Regions from separate parts of the Homo sapiens genome. Here regions 2, 3, 4, 5, 6 and 7 are each linked to region 1. Evidence: promoter capture Hi-C in 16 types of primary human blood cells and fetal thymus (Javierre and others, 2016). All regions are on one chromosome and are shown on one strand. The core of a region is centred on a gene start or on the middle of the fragment in contact, and the rest is flanking DNA. Distances in the headings are between cores, read along the strand shown.

What was found. The method cuts DNA at HindIII sites, captures the fragments that hold promoters and counts their contacts. A CHiCAGO score of 5 or more calls a contact.
Region 2: a contact is called between a fragment that was not itself captured here and the fragment with the promoter of SLC9B1 in region 1, in 14 of 17 cell types (neutrophils, non-activated CD4 T cells, activated CD4 T cells and 11 more). The highest score is 13.3, in neutrophils.
Region 3: a contact is called between a fragment that was not itself captured here and the fragment with the promoter of SLC9B1 in region 1, in 16 of 17 cell types (naive CD8 T cells, total CD4 T cells, activated CD4 T cells and 13 more). The highest score is 14.2, in naive CD8 T cells.
Region 4: a fragment that was not itself captured here is called in contact with the fragment with the promoter of SLC9B1 in region 1 in 16 of 17 cell types (total CD4 T cells, non-activated CD4 T cells, activated CD4 T cells and 13 more); the score reaches 15.6 in total CD4 T cells.
Region 5: a fragment that was not itself captured here is called in contact with the fragment with the promoter of SLC9B1 in region 1 in 7 of 17 cell types (naive CD4 T cells, total CD4 T cells, neutrophils and 4 more); the score reaches 8.0 in naive CD4 T cells.
Region 6: a fragment that was not itself captured here is called in contact with the fragment with the promoter of SLC9B1 in region 1 in 16 of 17 cell types (naive CD4 T cells, activated CD4 T cells, non-activated CD4 T cells and 13 more); the score reaches 12.8 in naive CD4 T cells.
Region 7: a fragment that was not itself captured here is called in contact with the fragment with the promoter of SLC9B1 in region 1 in 17 of 17 cell types (neutrophils, fetal thymus, naive CD4 T cells and 14 more); the score reaches 14.0 in neutrophils.

What each region holds. Positions count from the first base shown.
Region 1 is chr4:103,018,282-103,021,239 of GRCh38, reverse strand. SLC9B1 (solute carrier family 9 member B1) reads left to right here and starts at 1,535. Exons shown (of 12, transcript NM_139173.4): 1 at 1,535-1,641. It also overlaps a transcript of SLC9B2 not described here. RefSeq lists an enhancer at 1,194-1,694. The HindIII fragment of the contact is 6,332 bases long and covers 900-2,958 here.
Region 2 is chr4:102,516,080-102,519,037 of GRCh38, reverse strand. All of the region lies in intron 1 of NFKB1 (nuclear factor kappa B subunit 1), which reads right to left. Among named protein-coding and RNA genes, the nearest start is that of NFKB1-AS1, 15 kb to the right of the region's middle. The HindIII fragment of the contact is 5,636 bases long and covers 1-2,958 here.
Region 3 is chr4:102,534,801-102,537,758 of GRCh38, reverse strand. All of the region lies in intron 4 of NFKB1 (nuclear factor kappa B subunit 1), which reads right to left. Among named protein-coding and RNA genes, the nearest start is that of NFKB1-AS1, 34 kb to the right of the region's middle. The HindIII fragment of the contact is 1,895 bases long and covers 434-2,328 here.
Region 4 is chr4:102,551,136-102,554,093 of GRCh38, reverse strand. All of the region lies in intron 5 of NFKB1 (nuclear factor kappa B subunit 1), which reads right to left. Among named protein-coding and RNA genes, the nearest start is that of NFKB1-AS1, 50 kb to the right of the region's middle. The HindIII fragment of the contact is 3,657 bases long and covers 1-2,958 here.
Region 5 is chr4:102,569,894-102,572,851 of GRCh38, reverse strand. All of the region lies in intron 6 of NFKB1 (nuclear factor kappa B subunit 1), which reads right to left. Among named protein-coding and RNA genes, the nearest start is that of NFKB1-AS1, 69 kb to the right of the region's middle. The HindIII fragment of the contact is 5,915 bases long and covers 1-2,958 here.
Region 6 is chr4:102,586,788-102,589,745 of GRCh38, reverse strand. The region is part of intron 11 of NFKB1 (nuclear factor kappa B subunit 1); the gene reads right to left. Among named protein-coding and RNA genes, the nearest start is that of NFKB1-AS1, 86 kb to the right of the region's middle. RefSeq lists a silencer at 2,837-2,886. The HindIII fragment of the contact is 1,389 bases long and covers 690-2,078 here.
Region 7 is chr4:102,605,723-102,608,680 of GRCh38, reverse strand. It overlaps NFKB1 (nuclear factor kappa B subunit 1), which reads right to left. Exons shown (of 24, transcript NM_003998.4): 17 at 1,984-2,185; 18 at 1,362-1,531; 19 at 930-1,032. The region is part of intron 1 of LOC105377347 (a long non-coding RNA gene); the gene reads left to right. Among named protein-coding and RNA genes, the nearest start is that of NFKB1-AS1, 100 kb to the right of the region's middle. The HindIII fragment of the contact is 8,761 bases long and covers 1-2,958 here.

The DNA.
Region 1 (2,958 bases), core at 286-2,785:
ACCCTAAAGCACTTACCTCTCCAGGAGCCCATTCCTTCTAGAGCATAAGAGTAGTGCCTTGGAGGCAAACAGACTCCTAGCAAAGGTCTTCCTTCCCAGGTTTACCATTTGTCCCAACTCCCATTATCTTTAGGGATCTACCTGCTTTTCCTGTGAGTACAAAACATTTCCTTTTCATGAGTACAAAACATTTCCTTAACCCTATAATCATGAAACCCTGTCTACTCTCCTGAAACGAGGAAGAAAAATAAATCCTTGCTGAGATGTCTATAACACGTTGAAGGAGGGAAGGTGTTAAAAACAATAAAAAGGGCAGGGCTGTGGTGGCTCACGCTTGTAATCCCAGTACTGTGGGAAGCCAAGACGGGCAGATCACTTAAGTCCAGGAGTTCAAGTCCTCCTGGGCAATATGTGAAACTCCTCTCTACTAAAAATACAAAAATTAGCCGGGGGTAGTGGTGCCCACCTGTAGTCCCAGCTACTCAGGAGGCAGGAGGATCGCTTGAACCAAGGAGGAGGAGGCTGCAGGGAGCCTAGATCGCACTGCACTCCAGCCGGGGTAATAGAGTGAGACCCTGTCTCAACAACGTCAACAAAACCAATAAAAAGATAATTTCGTATTTAAGTTACCCAAGAAGGAACGGTAATTTGGATCAGATCTTAGATGATGACTAAGAAAAAGAACACTCCGGTAGAGGAATTAACTTTACAGAACGCACTGAGGCAAAAAGGAATACAGTGTTCAAGAGTAAACATTGAGTGTCAGGAGAAACATTAGATAGGAAAGGGCAGTTTGTCTTTCTAAGAAGTTTACACTTTCTCCAATAACAGTTGTTTTTGTCTTTTATAGGAAGCGCGGATTCTATTACTGGAAACTTTGGGACTGAAAGGCCAAAGCTTCTGGGCCCACCATCAACGCAGCTCCGCTTTCATTTCTTTCACATACAACTTTCCACATAAGATTTCATGCGGAAAAAAAAAAAAAACTCACAAAGGTTTTATACTGATAACAGTATATTAAGTGTTTACTTTGTACACAGCGTCTTTGTTCCAGACACTTGCCATGTCTCATTTATTCTCACACCACCACCACAGCGTCCTTTACAGATGAGAAGACAACCTCAGGGAGACGATGTATTTGCCTAGGTCCCATAGCTAGCAAGTGACAGCGCTGCAGTTTAAGCTCAGGCCGTCTTGGGGAGAGACCGTGCTCTTCTACCATTGCACTTTAAGCTGACTTTAGGGGAAACACAATCTGAGTTTTGACAAGTTTACTTCTGGCACATGCAGTCCCGAGCACTGCTTTTTGGCTAAAATGCCCAGTGATGTCAACTCTGTCCCTGGATTTCTACAACCCGATGAGTCAATATTCAGAAGAGACGTCGAAAGGAAAGGGTTCAATAGACAGAAAACACACCAGACAGTCCCAGAAACCCCAGAACCCTCGCCTCTGCCGGCGCGGACAGCCAAGACGTCACTTAAACGCGCTGCCGCCTCCTCGCCCCGCCCCGCCCCTGCGCGGAAGTCTATCCGGGCTTTCGCGTCACCACCCTGCCCACCTGGGTGGCGCGTGGCTTACGCAACGGTCACTGGGCTCCTGGGCCGCTCCCGGGCCAGCGAGGGCTGCGAAAGAAGTTGTAGGTACGGCCCATTTTTCTTAACGCCGCCCTTCCAAGCCCTTTGGCGCTAGTCCCGGGTCTGCCGCGATCGTTTCCTTGCGGTAGGCCGCAGGAGGGCCTTTCCTCCCCCTCAGTTCAATGGGATTCTTGGGCTCTTCTCCCAGACGCTGAGGGAACAGCCACAGACATTGTCTCTCCTCTCCGTGACTCCTTTCCTTACTCCGTCATCCCACATCTCTCTTGTTTGTTCTCTTTTCCTCCTGTTTTTCTTATTTTACAAATACTCGCCAGTAAGAAAGAAGAGATCTGTCAGTTAAGATTGACCTCAAAATTAATTTTATTAAGCGTGTACTATTTTACAAACGGTGGATCCCTGCAAATAAACCTTCACATACATGCTCCTGCGACTGGAGATTCTGGGATTGGTTGCCGATCCTGAGAAAGCTCTCTTCCCCCACCCACCCACATCCACGCCCCTTAATCCTGTTTACTCCTCTTGGCTTTAACCCAGGGGACAAGCACTTCCAGCAGTCCCCAACCTTTTTGGCACCAGGGATCAGTTTCATGGAAGACAGTTTGGGGTGGGGGGCAAGATGGGATGACACTCTTCTATCTCAGATCATCAGGCATTAGATTCTCTTGAGAAGGCGCAATTTAGATCCCTCACATGCGCAGTTCATAATCAGGTCTGTGCTCCTATGAGAATCTAATGCCTTTGCTCATCTGACAGGAGCTGGAGCTCAGGCATAATCCTCTAGCCCTGCTCACCTGCTGTGTGGCCTGTTCCTAATAGGCCACAAACCTGTACCTGTCTGCTGCCCAGGGGTTGGGGATCCCTGCTTTAGACCAGTGCTTTTGAAGGAAAAAGGAAAGTTGCACACATACTGTGTCTGTCACATCAATCAGTAGTGTTACAAGAGCTCTTCACGGGACCATACCAGGTCCCTCACTCCCCCTCTATGGGTGTCCTAGAGCCTGTGAAATAACAGATTTGGTGATGTGGGGAGACAACTGGCCCAGGTGGCACTGAGGGAGGCCACACCCCACTCTCTGATTTTCCTTAGAGATAAATATAATTATGTGTGCAACAGAAGCATGAAAAATGACACTTATTATTGTCACCCCTAGAGAATTCATGCCCCAAATATTTTAGTCACTGTGTGCCTATGAAAAGGGCATTCATAGGTATTGTCCCCTGTGAGTACCAGAATTTTTTTTAACTTACTTTTTAAAATTCTATACAGATTTAGTTAGTACAAGTTCAGTTTTGTTGTGTGGATATATTGCACAGTGGTGAAGTCTGGGCTTTTAGAGTACCAGAATTTATACTGCTGTTTTT
Region 2 (2,958 bases), core at 211-2,710, 500 kb after region 1:
TTATATGCCACTCAACAAGAGGAAACATCTATTTCTCTGTGCTTTGAGTCTTGGCAGACCTACGGACATACTCTGACCAATAGGAAGAGGTAGAAGTACAAGTTCTAAACCCAGCTTATAAGAGGCCTTGCAATGATCATTCTTGCTTTCTTGGAACATTGTTACCATGCAAACAAGCCTGCACCAGCCACTGGAAAATCAAAGACCATGTGGAGCACAGACAGGCAGTCCTAGCTGAGGCTCCCTAGCACCAGCTGAGTAGCCAAAACAACTTCAGACAAACAGCAGTAGGGCACCAGCTGAGTAGCTACAAACAGTACCAGTCAAGTAGCCAAAAGACCTCAGAGATTAGCCAAAGCAGGCCAGGCCAGATGAACTAGGCAGCCCACAGAATTGGAAGAAGTAATCAGTATCTTTTAATTTGCTTTGTGGTGATTCTCCTTTTTTTTAATGCAACAAAAGCAAACTAATTCAACAGTTTAGGAAGTAGGAAGGCAAATAGGCAAAAACAATGCAATATAATATGTGTCATGGGAAATGGAGTATATGTGGGGTATGGGTTAATTATCTTGGTAATTCAGTGATCACACTTTGTTAGAGTTCTAGTCAAAGCCCACTTTGTACTCATTTTTTTACTCTATTAGTTTACTCAATTCCCAACTGAACAAAAGAGGCAAGTATAGTAGCCAAAACACTGTGGTGTATACATAAAATTAAAACTGTTAAAACTTTCAGAGTGCAAATATTAATAAATCACTGTTAGCTTTAAGCAGTGATACCTTTAAAACAAGTTAATGTTTTAAATCCCTTCACCTCTCTATCTAAAAGCAATTTCATCATTCCTGCTGCAATGAGCCCCATTTTTGACTTTGCAATTTCTGCCAATATATCATTTTCACACATATCTAGTCAATAACCAATTTCTGCTGATTATTTTCTTCATGTTGTTTCTTGGATCTGCCCCTTCTTTCCAACATCCTAGGAGAGACCTTTATTGCTTCACCTCTGAATGACAGTAATAGGCTCTGTACTGTTCTCCCTCACTGCAGGGTTTCTTCCTCTTCAAGAATCTTTCACATTATTGCCATATTACTTATAAGATAAAGTCCAAAGACTTCAACCACTCAGCACATTACATTATTATATTAAATCATATTATAAGCATCAACTACTACTATGTCCTAATCAAAACCCTCTATGATAGACAGATTAATCATTCAGAATGACTTGCTCATTTCCATCTTGTACATTTGTTCACAATATGCCCTGCATCCTGAAATGCCATCTTTTCTACCTCAATAGCATCCACTCTTCAAGGCTCTAGTTAAATCCAATTTCTGCCAAGAAATCCTATATTTTTCCTATAACCTATAGCTCTGTAGTCACATAATATCTATAAAACTTATATATACTGGTGATTTAACACTAGACAGCATAGTTTTACTGCAATCTAACTTTACCTATATATTTATCATCTTCTCAAATGGATAGAAGTTCCTAAAAAGTAGAGATGGGAGTTTTGCTTTTTTGTATTGGCAAATTGGAAAACACTGGTTTTTTTGTTTTTGTTTTTTAAGTAATACTGTATTAATTTTAAGAAGCACTGCAATTTCAAGTTTGTCAGAATGTCAAATTCTGGTTTTAGTTATCACAGATTAACAGTTATCTGAACCTCCCTCCTTGCTATACTCAACTGTGAAACCATACAAAATACCTAAAGATGTAATTTAAGACATTGGACTTCATAGGGCTATATATTATAAGGTGATTTAGGTAAATTCTAAATTCGCCCTCACTTTTTGACTGAGGACACTTTCCAAATCATGACACAGGGAGAGCCCAAAGAGAGAACACCAATGGGCAGAATATCACAAAGAAAGGCTTTACACAAAAAGCAAGAGCCTCAGAAATCTACATAGGGGTCATCTCTGGTCACTGGCCAAATACCAAGCTGTGATAGTGTAGGACAAGACCCTGCAAAACCTAATAGAAAACAGTTTCTGGGCATCTAAGAGCTAAATGGAAATTCCGGACATCATATAGTGCTGAGAGACACTGAATTTGTAATAATCCAGGGTGGAAAGACATCACTGAACATTGTGAGCATTCAGTTGTGATTTCAGAAAGACCACACGATGGGAGTTAGAAACATCCTAAAATAAGGGCTACTCTAAACCTATCTTAATAAAACTAGGTGATCCACCAGTAAATTCACTGCCTGTTACAACAAAGCTCAACACGTTTTAAAGGAAGACAAAAAACCCAAACTCTCCACAATGTACAATAAAACATAATGAAGCCTGCAAAGAAATAGGAAAATAAGACTGAGAAAAAAAATGACACAAATGACAAAAATAGCTAATAGCATATGGTCAATAATGTAAAGGAAAAGATGAACATAATGAGAGAACAGATAGGCAATATCAGCAAAGAAATGCATACCTTTCTTTTAAAAAAAAGAATGGAAATTTTAGAACTGAAATGAAATTTCACTAGATGGACTTAGCATATTTAACATTATAGAAGAAAGTACCAATAAACTAGAAGAAAGGTCAATAAAAACTACCCAAACTGAATTACAGAGAAAAAAAGGTAGAAAGAAGTGAACACAGCTTCAGTGACCTACAGGACAATATTAAGCAGTCTTACGTATTTGTAACATAGAATCCCAGAAACAGAAAAAAGACAGAAAAAATATTCAAAAAAATAACAGTTGAGAATTTTTATAAATTTGATTTTTAAAAAATCAACCCACAGATCCAAGAATCTCAAAGATCTCTCTGCTGGATAAAGACAAATAAAACCATGGTTAGGCATATTACAGCCAAACTGTTAAAAACTAATGCTAGAGAAAAAAAAAATCCCAAAATAGCAAAGGACAAGAAAGGACATATTATATATGGGGGAACAATTGATAAGCATGATAAGCATGATGTTTCTGATGATCATTAGATACAG
Region 3 (2,958 bases), core at 132-2,631, 480 kb after region 1:
ATGAGAGAAGAAAAACATGAAACTGTGAAAGAGGGCTCCGTAAACAAGAATCACTTTTCCCGTAATCTTACTACGAAAAATGGTATTAATTGATATTTGTACACTAAGATATGGCTAAAAAGCCAGGTACCTAAGCCCATGGAACCTCTCATGCTATGCATGTGTGGAGAGTAATCTGCTGAAGAGTTTAGGCTTTAGACTTAACATGTTACGGCTTGTTCTAGTCAGAGCTTCCTTGTCTTAAATTGCTGCTGCCAAGCTCTGAACTGTACCATATTAATAAAAGTTATGCTTCCTTGACTCTTACTTAAAGACATTCCTTTATCTACTCTGATTACAGCTGGTTCAGCAGGGACTACAGACATGTTTATTTAGATATACTGTTTCAGCGTTGTAGAACACACCCTGTGCTAGACCCTGCATCTGTTAAGCTTCTCTCAGCATTTCAGAGGATAAGATTTTTGTTTTTATGATTATTAATATGGTCAAGCTCAAGATTGAATATTAACCTACCAGAATGATTCCAAAACTAGGTAGTTCCCTTAAATACTATCTAACCCAGAAATTTTATAGATATAGTTAATTAATGAAGTTAGCTGGAAGCCTTCACTATATAAACTACTGTGGGCTGATAAACACCTAAGAAGTGTCATATTTTTTCATTTGTACAAAAGGGAAGATTATACCAGACCATCTTTAAGGTCTACTCCAGTTCTAACTTTTTATGATTTATAAAGTTAACTTATTCATATTTGTATACAAAGAATAAAACAAGGATAATTATGACCTCATCATCATATTAAGGGAGGTTTCGCTGTATTTCCTGATTCAACTTTATAATGATGTCAATCAATTTGTGGTAGTGTTAGTAGTTTATAACCACATAGTCGCTTAAGCAGATGATTTTCTTTTTACAGATTCACTTTTTGGTGAAAAGAAAATACGTTAAGATTTTTTAAGGAACATTCTCACCTTTTGTTTCTATTGTGGGACCAACTCTGCATATACAGCACTAGATCATCTGCCCATCAGCTCATCACACCCACTAGCTGCTGGTGGGGGTTCACTCCCTTACTCATTAAATTGTGGAACCCCAGCAAACATGCAGATTTTGACAGCTTTGAGCTCATGAACAAATGTAAAACGTATGCACTACTTAGACTATACTACATTTCATTATGCCAAGTAGGGTCTTGCAGTCTCTGAGCAGTCCAGGTGCCTTGAACTGATTTAAATCTCTGGGAAGCATCTGGAACTGTTCCTATATTATCCAAAAACTTCCTGATTTCCAAAGATCAGTCCTCAAACACATTTACCAGATAAGTAAGGCCTAAAGTAAATTCCCCGGTCTGGGAAATTTCCTTAATGCACACAAATGTCTAAAGTTTATGATCAACTCATCACAGTGAGACCTAAAACAATTCCTTGGGAGATTCCAGATCTAAACACAAGGGAAGCCTTTGGAGATGAAGTTTCAGAGGTAATTCCTTTGTTTTGATTCTCACACAATTCATATTTAAAAATAATTTACAATTTCAGCCCTATGCCTTTTGTAAGCAAACACTGTTGGTTTTTTAAATAATTAAATGAAATTTCTAAAACCATGAAAAAAACAACACATGTATAATAGCCTGCAGAATTAGCTAACCATAAGAATAGAGATTTACTTGACTGCTAATTTAAACACAACTTGAGTTTTTGAACAGTATTAGTTAATTAACACTGATTAATATGCAACAGAACTGGATGTTCTAAAAATTAGTAGTCTATGCTATGACTCATCTCCGTCAGAGCTGGGGAAAATCTGTGGCTAAGAGGTCCCAAAGAAAAAAGAATCTTTTTCTAACTTAAAAAAAAAAAACAAAAAAAACCCCAAAACCACACACACACAATTCATTATCTTTAATCACAAAATTCCTTTGGGACAGTTGGAAAAATATAGACACGTATGTGTTTATATCTTATTGGGAGTGGTGTCAAATAGACAATACTTAATAGATATTTTTCATGGTTACATACGAGTATCTAAATCCTCAGAAGTTTTTAATCTGAGGATGAAAATTTACAACTGTTTTCAGGAAGATGTCGTCAAATGCATTGTCTGGATGCATTTCTGATTCTAAATTTCTGAGATCAAAATTTTGCCTTTAATCCACATTCACTCATCTCAGTAACTCCATTTGCTTAAAATGAGTCATCAACCTCAAAGGCAAGGCTACATCCATTCAGTCAGAAAGTCTGACTTGAATACAACCTTCTTACTTTCACTGAATTCAGATATCAAAATAGCATCACTTTGGTAAACACATTGTTTTACTCACATAAGCTTTTATATGAATTAAATTTTGAATTTTGGAACTACATTAACCCTTCAGGTAAATCATAAATGCCAATTTTTCCTTATAACTGTTGGATCCATAATAAGGAATTACATTTAAAAATTCTTATTGTAGTGCTATGCTTATGAAAATGATATTGGAAAAAATACTTTGGCATATGCAGACAAATTTCAGTTGATTTCTGTTTCATAGACTACCTAGATCTTAAAAGCTGGGAAATTTTCCAGGATGCCAGAGCCCACAGAACTTTAAGGGATAAAATTTCACTGGGAATTGATGACCTTCTCTGAGAAATAACTGCTTAAAAGAGTTGAACATGGAGGTAGAGCAATGGAGTGTTACTGGCAACCTGAGGAGTCAGGATGTGACACCTGCAAGAACTAGAACCATGCCCCAAAGTTTCATGTGGCATTCTTGCCCCCACAGCAAAAACTTTCATCTAATTTCAACCTTATAAGGATAGCCTGTTCAGCAATCATTAAGACATTTATATCAAATGCTGACCAAATATAACACATATATAATGTCACGATTCTGGAAACCACAACGCAGTGGATGCTTTATTTAAGCTTGTGACCTAGTTAGCATGTGTTAAATGTTACAAAATGCAAAAGTGTTT
Region 4 (2,958 bases), core at 339-2,838, 470 kb after region 1:
TGATTCCTAGTCATATGCATAGGACACAGAAGACAACATCCAAAGATCACATTTTCAAACTACAAAAAAAAAGTTTACCATCACAGAATTTCTGAGTTGGAAAGAACCTTATAGGTAAACTTAACTTTAAAATTGTGAACATTTTAAATACATTTCACCACAATTACAAACTGAGAAAACATACAATCAACACTCAAATTACCTGTTGCAATGGGACCTCTGATAGCATGGAAAATCAAAATTTAGAGACAAAGAAAAACCTTCATGTTAGGCAAAGATTTCAACTTTTGTCATTAAAACTGAGACTGAGTACCCAAAGTGTTTATTTTCAGTAAATCCAAGGAGGGCCCTGCCCTGGGTAGTTAAGTCCTGATAAGAATCTGTGTGTTCTGAGGATATGTCAGAAATGCTTCAATTACATAAGTGGAGAGAGAAAAAAAGACACGCAAACAAAGATACACTGAGAAATTTTAATCTAAGAGATTTTTTAAAAATCCTAATAACATAAAAATAATTAGAGGAAGTAGAACACATTAGATATGATCAAAGTGTGTCCAAAACAAAAATTCTAGGTTTCTCATTTATTCATTGAAAATAGAAATTATTAATGTAAATTTCTAACATTCTTTTAAAATGATTTTAAAGTCTTTAAACACATTGTTTTTGACTCAAATTTAATTTAAAATAATTAAGAATATCTCTGACTCTGTGATATCCAAATTTACTTGGGATTGAATATCACTGATTTCTTTTTTCTTAAAGGTATACAACCACCCTCATTATGTATTTTTCTTGCTTAGAAAATCTATTTTATCACTTTCACTGAAACCCACTGGCTAGAGAAGCAATTAGGTTCTTAATTATTGAAAATACTTAGAGACATCATTCGGTGTAGAATCTCCTTTGTACTACAGTAAATACAGCTGCCCTGTATAAAAATTTGGACCATGTTGGGAACAAAGCCAATTAACTGTCCCTTTCTTCAGAAGGAAAGTACATAAGATAAAGAGCATTTCAACTATTCTATTGTGATTTCCTGTGGAAAGCCCCTACTAAATTAAGAGAATTACAAGTGAGTAGAACTGGGAAATTTTCTTTGATTTCTTGGTGCTACTTTACTGGTCTTTTTACACTCTAGACATTAATAGGGCAAAAGAGAACACAATCTAAGTGTCAGACTGAGGTTAACCAAAATATTGTACCATCTACGTACTATGATGTAAACAAAAGTAGGAAGGGGGGAAACACCAAAGTTTCTCAAAGTTCTAGGATCAGCCAGTAATTTGGAAAAATGGTAGTACTTTAAACCTGCAAAAAAAACCCTTTTATGTCTTAACTTTATGTTGTTCAGCCTGTATAAACTGACTAAACACAAAGTATATGAAGTAAGTTATACATTCTACAGCTTGGATAAAGTAGTGTGTAAGCTATTAATTTCTATTATTTTGGGGGATCTGTCAGAAAATTGTAATTGTCCTATAACCAAATCTTGATTATCCCTTGTTACAGATTTATCAAGTTAAGTAAACATCTTTCTAAGGGCATACAAATAAAAAAGAAAAAAATTACTTATTGTAATACAAGTTAGCTTCCCTGCCCTGTAGTCTTCCTGGTCATTTTTGAACCAATTCAGTGACAATGAACTCACTTTGTCCTGAGGCAATACATTCCATCCTCAGACAGCCCTGACTGTCAGCAGCAACTGAAACCTCTATCGCCTGGGGCTTCCATTCACCGCTCCTTATTTCATCCTCTTGTGACAACAGGACACATTTAATCCTTTTTTCCCCATCACAGCCATTCATATATTTGAAGACAACCAAATCCTCCAGGCTATAAATTTCTCAGGCTCAGTAACTACTCCTCATTTGAATGAAGTTTGAGTTCTCTCACCATTCTGCTCTGAAGACACTCAAGTTGGTTTCTATTTCTCTACAAATGTGGTGCCCAGCAGTACTACACTGTATTCCTGGTGTGGCCTTTCATCACAGAGTGCAAATGAGACCACCACTTCCTTGGTCTTATGTATCGTGTTTCCATTAATGCAGCCTAATGAGGAATTACTTGTTTCGTAGTCACATTGCATTGCTGGTTCATGTTGAGTCTGTTATTAACTAAAACTCCTAGATCTCTTTGCATGCGTTGCTGCTAAATCATCTCTCTTCCACTCTGTACTTGTAATTTGTTTTCTGCATGTATTTATATCTTTTAAATATAATTGCTGAAGAATTGGGTCCATTGTCTCAGCTTTCAAAATTAATTTGAATTCAAATTGTTTGTTGTCTATCACTTCATGTCACCTGCAAATTTAGTAAGAACCTTATAGGGCTGTATTCAGGACAATGATAAAATATATTAAAGTGTTTGGTGAAAGATCCCTGGAACCTATCACTAGAAATATCTCTTCAGGTTGACATCACCAGCATGGGAGATGCTGTGAATCCCTGAACTACCAAAACAGGGATCTCCAGCATCTCACTATCTCACCCTTGTAGAAATCCTGTCATAGAAGACAATGATGTAGGTTTGGTGTGATTCGTTCTTCTTACGGTGACTGAGATAGCAGCTCTCTAGTTTCTAGTTTGAGAAGTACACCTGTCAAATTCCACTTGCATTCTATCACAAACAGAGAAGGGAGAGACTATCTAGCCAGGAGGTGATCTCAAGGAGGGTATATTTTCTCCCAGTCCACCTCAACACACACACACACACACATGCGCGCGCGCACACACACACACACACACACCAATTTAGAATATCCTTTGAAGAGGGATTCCTCCAGCAAATCCTGAGTAATACCCTGATTACTCTCTCACACATGTCTGTATCTTGGCTGTGGTGCCATGTAACCTGGGGGCTACAGAAAGATGATCACATTCATGTGTGTCAACACAGAGCCCAGCACTGTGCCTGGCAGGTGGTGTGCCTTGGATAAACACATGCTACATAAATGTAAGG
Region 5 (2,958 bases), core at 328-2,827, 450 kb after region 1:
ACAGAATGAACAGCACTGCAAATGATAAATACGTGGTTAAATATAAACACCTTTTTTCTGATTTAAAAAGTTTCTTTAAAAGATAAGTGACTGTTTTAGATACTTTTCAAGAGAAGACACACATGCCACCAACAAACATATGGAAAAAGCTCACTAGAGAAACGCAAATTAAAACACAATGAGATATGATCTCACACCTGTCAGAATGGCTTTTATTAAAAAGTCAAAAGATAACAGATGCTGGCACGGCTGTGGAGAAGAGGGTACACTTATATACTGCTGGTGGGAGTGCAAATTAGTTCAGCCACTGTGGAAGCAGTGTGGTGCTTTTTCTTTTTTGTTTTATTTTTGCCCTTGTAAACTTGCTTATTTTTTATTATACTTTAAGTTCTAGGGTACATGTGCACAATGTGCAGGTTTGTTACATATGTATACACGTGCCATGTTGGTGTGCTGCACCCAGTAACTCAGCATTTACATTAGGTATATCTCCTAATGCTATCCCTCCCCCCACCCCACCACAGGCCCAGGGGTGTGATATTCCCCACCCTGTGTCCAAGTGTTCTCATTGTTCAATTTCCACCTATGAGTGAGAACATGCAGTGTTTGGTTTTCTGTCCTTGCGATAGTTTGCTCAGAATGATGGTTTCCAGCTTCACCCACGTCCCTACAAAGGACATGAGCTCATCCTTTCTTATGGCTGCATAGTATTCCATGATGTATATATGCCACATTTTCTTAATCCAGTTTATCACTGATGGACATTTGGGTTGGTTCCAAGTCTTTGCTATTGTGAATAATGCTGCAATAAACATAAGTGTGCATGTGTCTTTATAGCAGCATGATTTATAAACCTTTGGGTATATACCCAGTAATGGGATGGCTGGGTCAAATGGCATTTCTAGTTCTAGATCCTTGAGGAATCGCCACACTGTCTTCCACAATGGCTGAACTAGTTTACAGTCCCACCAACAGTGTAAAAGTGTTCCTATTTCTCCACAACCTCTCCAGCACCTGTTGTTTCGACTTTTTAATGATTGCCATTCTAACTGGTGTGAGATGGTATCTCATTGTGGTTTTGATTGGCATTTCTCTGATGGCCAGTGATAATGAGAGCATTTTTTCATGTGTCTTTTGGCTGCATAAATGTCTTCTTTTGAGAAGTGTCTGTTCATATCCTTTGCCCACTTTTTGATGGGGTTGTTTGATTTTTTCTTGTAAATTTATTTAAGTTCTTTATAGATTCTGGATATTAGCCCTTTGTCAGATGGATACATTGTAAAAATTTTCTCCCATTCTGTAGGTTGCCTGTTCACTCTGATGGTAGTTTCTTTTGCTGCGGAGAAGCTCTTTAGTTTAATTAGATCCCATTTGTCAATTTTGGCTTTGGTTGCCATTGCTTTTGGTGTTTTAGTCATGAAGTCTTTGCCCATGCCCATGTGCTGAATGGTATTGCCTAGGTCTTCTTCTAGGGTTTTTATGGTTTTAGATATAACATTTAAGTCTTTAATCCATCTTGAATTAATTTTTGTATAAGGTGTAAGGAAGGGATCCAGTTTCAGCTTTCTACATATGGCTAGCCAGTTTTCCCAGCACCATTTATTAAATAGGAATCCTTTCCCCATTTCTTGTTTTTGTCAGGTTTGTCAAAGATCAGATAGTTGTAGATGTACGGTATTATTTCTGAGGGCTCTGTTCTGTTCCATTGGTCTATATCTCTGTTTTGGTACCAGTACCATGCTGTTTTGGTTACTGTAGCCTTGTAGTATAGTTTGAAGTCAGGTAGTGTGACGCCTCCAGCTTTGTTCTTTTGGCTTAGGATTGTCTTGGCAATGCAGGCTCTTTTTTGGTTCCATATGAACTTGAAAGTAGTTTTTTCCAATTCTGTGAAGAAAGTCATTGGTAGCTTGATGGGGATGGCATTGAATCTATAAATTACCTTGGGCAGTATGGCCATTTTCACGATATTGATTCTTCCTATCCATGAGCATGGAATGTTCTTCCATTAGTTTGTGTCCTCTTTTATTTCATTAAGCAGGGGTTTGTAGTTCTCCTTGAAGAGGTCCTTCACATCCCCTGTAAGTTGGATTCCTAGGTATTTTATTCTCTTTGAAGCAATTGTGAATGGGAGTTCACTCATGATTTTGCTCTCTGTTTGTCTGTTATTGGTGTATAGGAATGCTTGTGATTTTTGCACATTGATTTTGTAGCAGTGTGGTGATTTTTCAAAGAGCTAAAAATAGAACTACCATTTGACCCAGCAATCCCACTGTTGGGTACACAATCAAAGGAATATAAATCATTCTACCATAAAGACACATGCATGTTAATGTTCACTGCGGCAGTATCCACAATAGCAAAGACATGGAATCAACCTAAATTCCCTATCAATAACATAAATAAATAAAGAAAATGTGGTACATATATACCATGGAATACTATGCAGCCATAAAAAAGAATAAGATCATATGTTTTGCAGGAACATGGATGGAGCTAGAGGCCACTGTCCTTAGCAAACTAATGCAGGAACAGAAAAACAAATACTGCATGTTCTCACTTGTAAGTGGGAGCTAAATGATGAGAACTCATGGACAAAAAGGGGAACAACAGACACTGAAGAAGGCCTTGTTTCTCCTCTGTATTTTGATATTTATATATCTACTCCTAGTGCTTACCAGTTGGTATATGCTATATGTATTAATTGGAAAAAAATTCCATGTCTCTAAACTGCCAGAAAGCAGAGAGAGTGTGGTGATTACTGGTAAGTGAACTGGCCTAAAGCAAAGTCAAGGAACACAGATATTTTCCATGGAATAAAAATGTCAACGAACTAAAATATGTTGAAACAAATTGTTGATATTCAGGGTTTAAAATAAAACACCAAACTAAGATTATTATTATTATTTTTTACCAAGAAAGGCAGTAAAGGCTAATTATATAAATGAATTTTAAAAAAGA
Region 6 (2,958 bases), core at 135-2,634, 430 kb after region 1:
TTGATTAGTGCTGAACCCTTAACAATTATTCTATTTCTGATTCTTCAATGTCAGTTTTGTCATGCTTATGTTCAGAAAGAACTTCGATTATTTCTAATTCTGTGGTTGTTTCAGTCATCTTAGGGCTAGATAGAAGGTCTCTGTTTACTGATTATCTCATGATCATCTAACTGCAGTTGAAAGATGAAGCAGGGGAAAGCAGGGTAACAAAGTACACTTTAATAGTTGTTTAAAAGCTGAGCATCTCCAGACTTCCCAGGAAAAAAAAAAAACCAAGGTTGCCAAATTTTGAGAAAAATATGCTTCCACTAGAAGGGGATGACCTTTAAGTGGAGAAACTTTGACTTACTTATCAAATATGTTTTAGATTCAGATTTATAATTTCCCCATCGGTTCTATCTTAACTAATTTACAGCTATACTCATTACTGTTCACTGCAGACATATGAAACACAAGAGGGAAGCAGGCAACTTATTTATCTTCAGAAATAAATGTTATCTATTGACATGGATTCCAGCAAAGAGACTAGTTAGTATTTTCTATGTATTCATTTTACCTTTTAAAGCAGAGAGATATTTATTGGCTGTATTTCACTGTAAAATGGGAATTTTAAGGGCAAAATATTAATTATAACACAGCTAGTAAGATTCCAATGACAAGAAACTGATACAGAACATTCCACATAAGCTTTATAAAAGAACCTGCTGTTTGAATCTCCACAGAATTGAATATGGAGACTTTCACACTCCATATTCAAGGGATCATTTATCCTTGCGGTCTGCTTTTGACAATGGCACCATGGGATGTACTATGAAACATCAACCTATTTTAGAAGGAACCAAAGCAGCCACTTACTACAAGTTCTCCTTTTGCAGGAGAGGAAACTGAAGCTAGGAGGGGTTAGGTGACTTATCTGAGGTCACAATGGAGTCAAGATCAGTCTCAAAGTGCAGTGATGTTTTCATTATGTTAGGCTGTCATTCTTTTGAAAACACTCCAAAATAGCTTTGTATAATAATAACCAGTGACTTTAATAATCAATGACTTTACATAACAGTTGATGACTTTAGATAATAGTTCAATTCACAAATATGGATAATCTCCTAGTGTTTGCTACCTATTTCTGTGCATGTGCCTTAAAAGTACCTCATTCTCACTTTTCAGGTTTTAGTTTACCAGTAAAGGTGACTGCATTTATCTTGGCCATACCTTTCATAATTTAAAGATTATTTATCCCTAATCTCCATCTTTCAGACTGAAAAATCATTATGGTCTCTTTTATTTTTTTTTTATTTTTTTTTGCTTTTGTACAGCAGTTCCTCAACTATCTTCCTCCTCTGCCAATCATCCTTCTCTTGATTATTTCGATCGTCTCCCCTGGACCCAACCATCTCCAATAATTTTTTGTGAAGTACAATGTTGATGACCATAGAGGATGCAAAGCTCCGGGCTGGTTCTGTATGATGCTTTATATTTATGTATAATGTCTTACCTGATGATACCCAACATATTACTAGCCTTATAGATGAGGATGGATGGCAGCTTGGCTGGTCAATCAATAAGTCAGTCCACAGATATTTAATGAGCATTTTCTATGCAACTTATACTGTTCTAGATAGTCTATGACCTAAAGAAGATTCTTTGTACTCGGGGTGGTAGGAAGACAATAGACCCATAAATAAATAGATAAGACAGGTTTACATATTGATAAAAATAATGAAGAACATAAAATTAGGCAATGAGATAGGGAATGACTACAGAGACTGGGGGTAAGGAAAAGTGTGTTCAATGACTTCTGAGAAATGTATGCAATGTTTCCCTGGGTTGTACAGTTTGGATCCATTTCTATCTACTTACTCTAATGCTAAATGGCCTACTACTTTTCTGACCAGTTATATTGCCTGGTCAGATTATTTCTCCTTGGTCCTATTATCTTGAGTTTTTATAATCCAGAAGGTTTCTATAGAATCAAGTAATTTGTTGTCCTCATATATATATATGTTGTCCATTCTTTCCTTCAGAGCTCAATGGGTAAGTATTTCTCCAGACAGTTCTTAAACTTTGTATTGTATGAAGCTTTTCATCAATGACAGCCTGGAAGGTAGGTGCATGAAGCATACAGGTGCAATTTTGAACTTTCAGGTGACCCCATTCTCTAATCCCTGCATTGGATAGTTCCTACTATGATAACGAGGCATTAAAGTAATCACCTGAATATACCCCCACTATAACATACTTTTCTGAGGCATAGATACCACTGGGAAAGGGAGACAGGCAGCCTAGATACCAAGCTGAGCTTTGAATGTTTCTAGGTTCATACACATACAGGTAACCTGGGTTTTCTTTCTTCATGATTCTCTGTGTTAGCAAAAACTGGCATTATTTGAAGACATATTTCTGGAGAAGAAATCTATTTTTTTCCTCAGAAAGTCTAAAAAAATTATCCATATTTTTCTTCTGTGTCTACTTTTAAAGAAGGGTGTTTAAATTAAAGCAGTGATTTTCACATCATTTTGTGTAGGCAGAAGCATTCAAAAGACCTCCAGCAGCTCCTGATAGGGAAGTAAGGAGAGGTGGGACAGCCTCTCGGAAGGCCGAGCTGGCAGGGCCCTTCACCCCTATTTTAATCAAAGCCTACCATGTCCATACACTGGGATTTTGTATGAAATCTCATGTGAAGAAAGAAAAGTTATTGTGCTGACAATGTTTTCAAACCACCAGGATATAGAGTGCACTACAAATCTGACCAAACAATGGAGAGGCCACAACCTCAGAAAAGAAACAAGAACTTGTAGAACCGTTTTCTAAACACTCCTGTGGCAGCACGAATTCTAGGAAAGGAAAGCCCTCTTCAAAGATTACCTATCACATCTTGCTCTCACAGGAGACAACACCCACCCATGTGGCTTGTTGCTGCTGCACCTTTGCGGTTTCCAACCTCAGCAAGGATCTGGGTGC
Region 7 (2,958 bases), core at 169-2,668, 410 kb after region 1:
TTTTAAGTTAAAAAAAAAAAAAGCCTCTAAAGTATATCAGATATGTCAGGGCAGGCTTCAGATGCCAATTTCATTACACATATTTTGAGGTTCTAAATATGCAAGGCACTGGAGATTCAAAGATCAGCATGGATAATTTTCTATACTTCACAGGACTAGAGAATTAAATGGAATAACATCTGCAAACCTATGAGCAAAATAGGAGAGAGAAACATAGTACAGAGAATAAAGTCTTGAAGTTCACACTGCCGAAGTGTGATTCATAGCTCTGTCACTTACTGGAACCCTGAAGTGGGATCTGGTAGTCTCTCTAGTCTGTTTCCTTGACTCTAAGATGGGGAATAATGGTATTTGTCACAAGGGGTGATTGGGCATTAAATGAGACTGTGCACATAAAGTGCATATCACAGTGCCTGGTACACAGAAAGGTCAATAAGTGCTAGCCATTTTTAGTGCCTTCCACATAATGGGTCTTAATACATGGCCCATTTTCTTTTTCCTACACTTCAATTTCTAAGAGATATTTCTTTCAAAATGAAGTCTTTAAATGATTTCTTATACCAATAATCTTTTTCTTCTGGGGCCTTCTGATATGATCTGAGACTAATACCACTCAGAATTCTATAAGGAATCAAACTCTACTTTGAAAAGACCCTTTGTCATGGGAGTCAATCTAAACAATCAAACCCCAAACAAACAGATGAATCAGAAAGTAAAAACTAAAATGACTATCAGGGTAAAGCCCAAGATTACTAGTCCAAACAGTGCCTTATGGCAGATAAAATGTGATTTGCCATATAATTTTTATTTACCCTTGTTTTTCAGCAGTAGGTCTGTGGCTTAAAGAAGGCAACATGACTGCTCTATTGAAGTTGGGTTTGCATTCCTGGTAACATTTTTCATTAATGACCGCCAGATCACCATCTTACCTGCTGCTTTGAGAAGAGCTGCCAGCCTGGTGGACCCTCTCCCAGCTGCTATATGCAGGGGTGTGGTTCCATCGTAGGTAGTACTGTCCACATGGGCATCACCCTACAATCCAGCCCACACAAGAAAGCGTTAGTGGAAGGTTCTTTTGCCCTTTTGTCCCCACCTCCCAGTGTGCATGGCTCCTTGGGTCCTATTACTAGCCCAATTGCTACTTTGGGCTGGCTCTGTCATTGAAGAAATCCCCAGTTAGAGATGCCAAGCAAGGGGGTTGGGGGAATGTCTAAAGGTGGTACTCTGAAGCCCTCCATAAATGTTAAACAAATAGAGCTGATTGTAAGGGAGAACAGCAGCTACTGACTTCCTTCTTTGAAAAGATTTCCTTAAATCTCCCTCAGAAATTTAATGCAAAAGCAAATAAGTGTGCCCTTCACCTCCAGGAGCAGGCAGCCTGCCAATGAGATGTTGTCGTGCTCCACAGCCAGGTGCAGTGCTGTGCGCCCGGACTTCTGCTCCTGAGCATTGACGTCAGCCCCAGCGGCCACCAGCAGCAGCAAACATGGCAGGCTATTGCTCATCATGGCTAGATGAATGGCATTCAGACCTAGAGTCCAAGCAAAGGGACAGTCACAGGATGGGATGGCTAACTCACAAGATGGCCCTTGTGAAGCTGAAGGAAATGGCAAAAACTGAATCATGGGGAGGGACAGTAAAGATACTATAAGTCTATTGTTCTGCTTTGAAGACCCACAGTCTCCTATTATGTTCTCAGGAGACATGAACATAAATAAACATTCTCTGAATAAACGACGCTTTGTGTACTTCAAGATGAATCTTTACTCAGGCCTCTGCTTTCTCCTCCTACTAACTATTCCAAATCATCTTTAAAAAAATTAGCTTTGGTGAGCAACAGAAATGCCCAAAAGAGATGATGAACTCCAGGTGACTAAGGAAAGCACTTTTGGGTGCAAATCAAATAACACACGTTTATCAAATACCTAGTAGATATTTAGAAGGTGGAGAAAGTTACACCAATGATGTGTGATTGTCTCTTACCGTCCCCGTTGGGGTGGTCAAGAAGTAGTGCTGCCTTTTTGTGCTTGAGTAAGATACTGAGAACTTTATCATGTCCTTCTTTGGCAGCTAGGTGCAAAACAGAGTTACCCAAGCGGTCCAGAAGGCTCAGGTCGGCCCCAGCCCTCAGCAAATCCTCCACCACATCTTCCTGCTTAGTGATCACTGCCAAGTGCAAGGGCGTCTGGAAAGTGAAAGGGCAGGAGATTCACTGGTCAGCAGTGAATACTTACTTACAACTCACAGCTTGGTAGCTGTTACTGCAATAGGTGGGGCCATACTGCAGGAATATTTCTCATTCCCAGATTAACTTCTGACCTTGGCACCCAAGTTATCCTGTTCCATACTATATGCTAATGAAGTACATATACTGTACTAACACTTAGCCATTCAATAATTCATGTTTTAAAATTCTTATTTATCTTAAATTTAATTGACAAATAGTAATTGTATATATTTATGAGGTACAATGTGATGTTTTAATCTAAGTTTACAACATAAAATGATTAAATCAGGCTAAGTTACAAATCCATCACTTCATATACTTACAATTTTTTCTGTGGTGGGTTATTTTCATATTTACAAGTCTTAATAGCTTCTTGTTTCTCACTACAACCCACTGATTGTTGATTTTGAGCACACCTAGTAGTAAATTTAGTTTTCTTAAATATCTGGTAGGAGTTACCTCCAGCTGATAATTTTATATTAACAAATCAAATTAAGGCTATGTTTTCACTGAAGAAATTTAAATAAAGTACTCAATAGAAACCAATTAACAAAAGTGCCATGATTCTATGCTGACATGGAAACTAAATTTACTAAATTAAAAAATACTGTCCCATGGACTGGCTCCTGAGACCAGTCAATATAGCTTTCCTACACCCATTTCATAAAAGGTATTATAAGATTCTAAATAACATAACCAGGATAATACAAGTATCTCACCAAGGGGGCTCA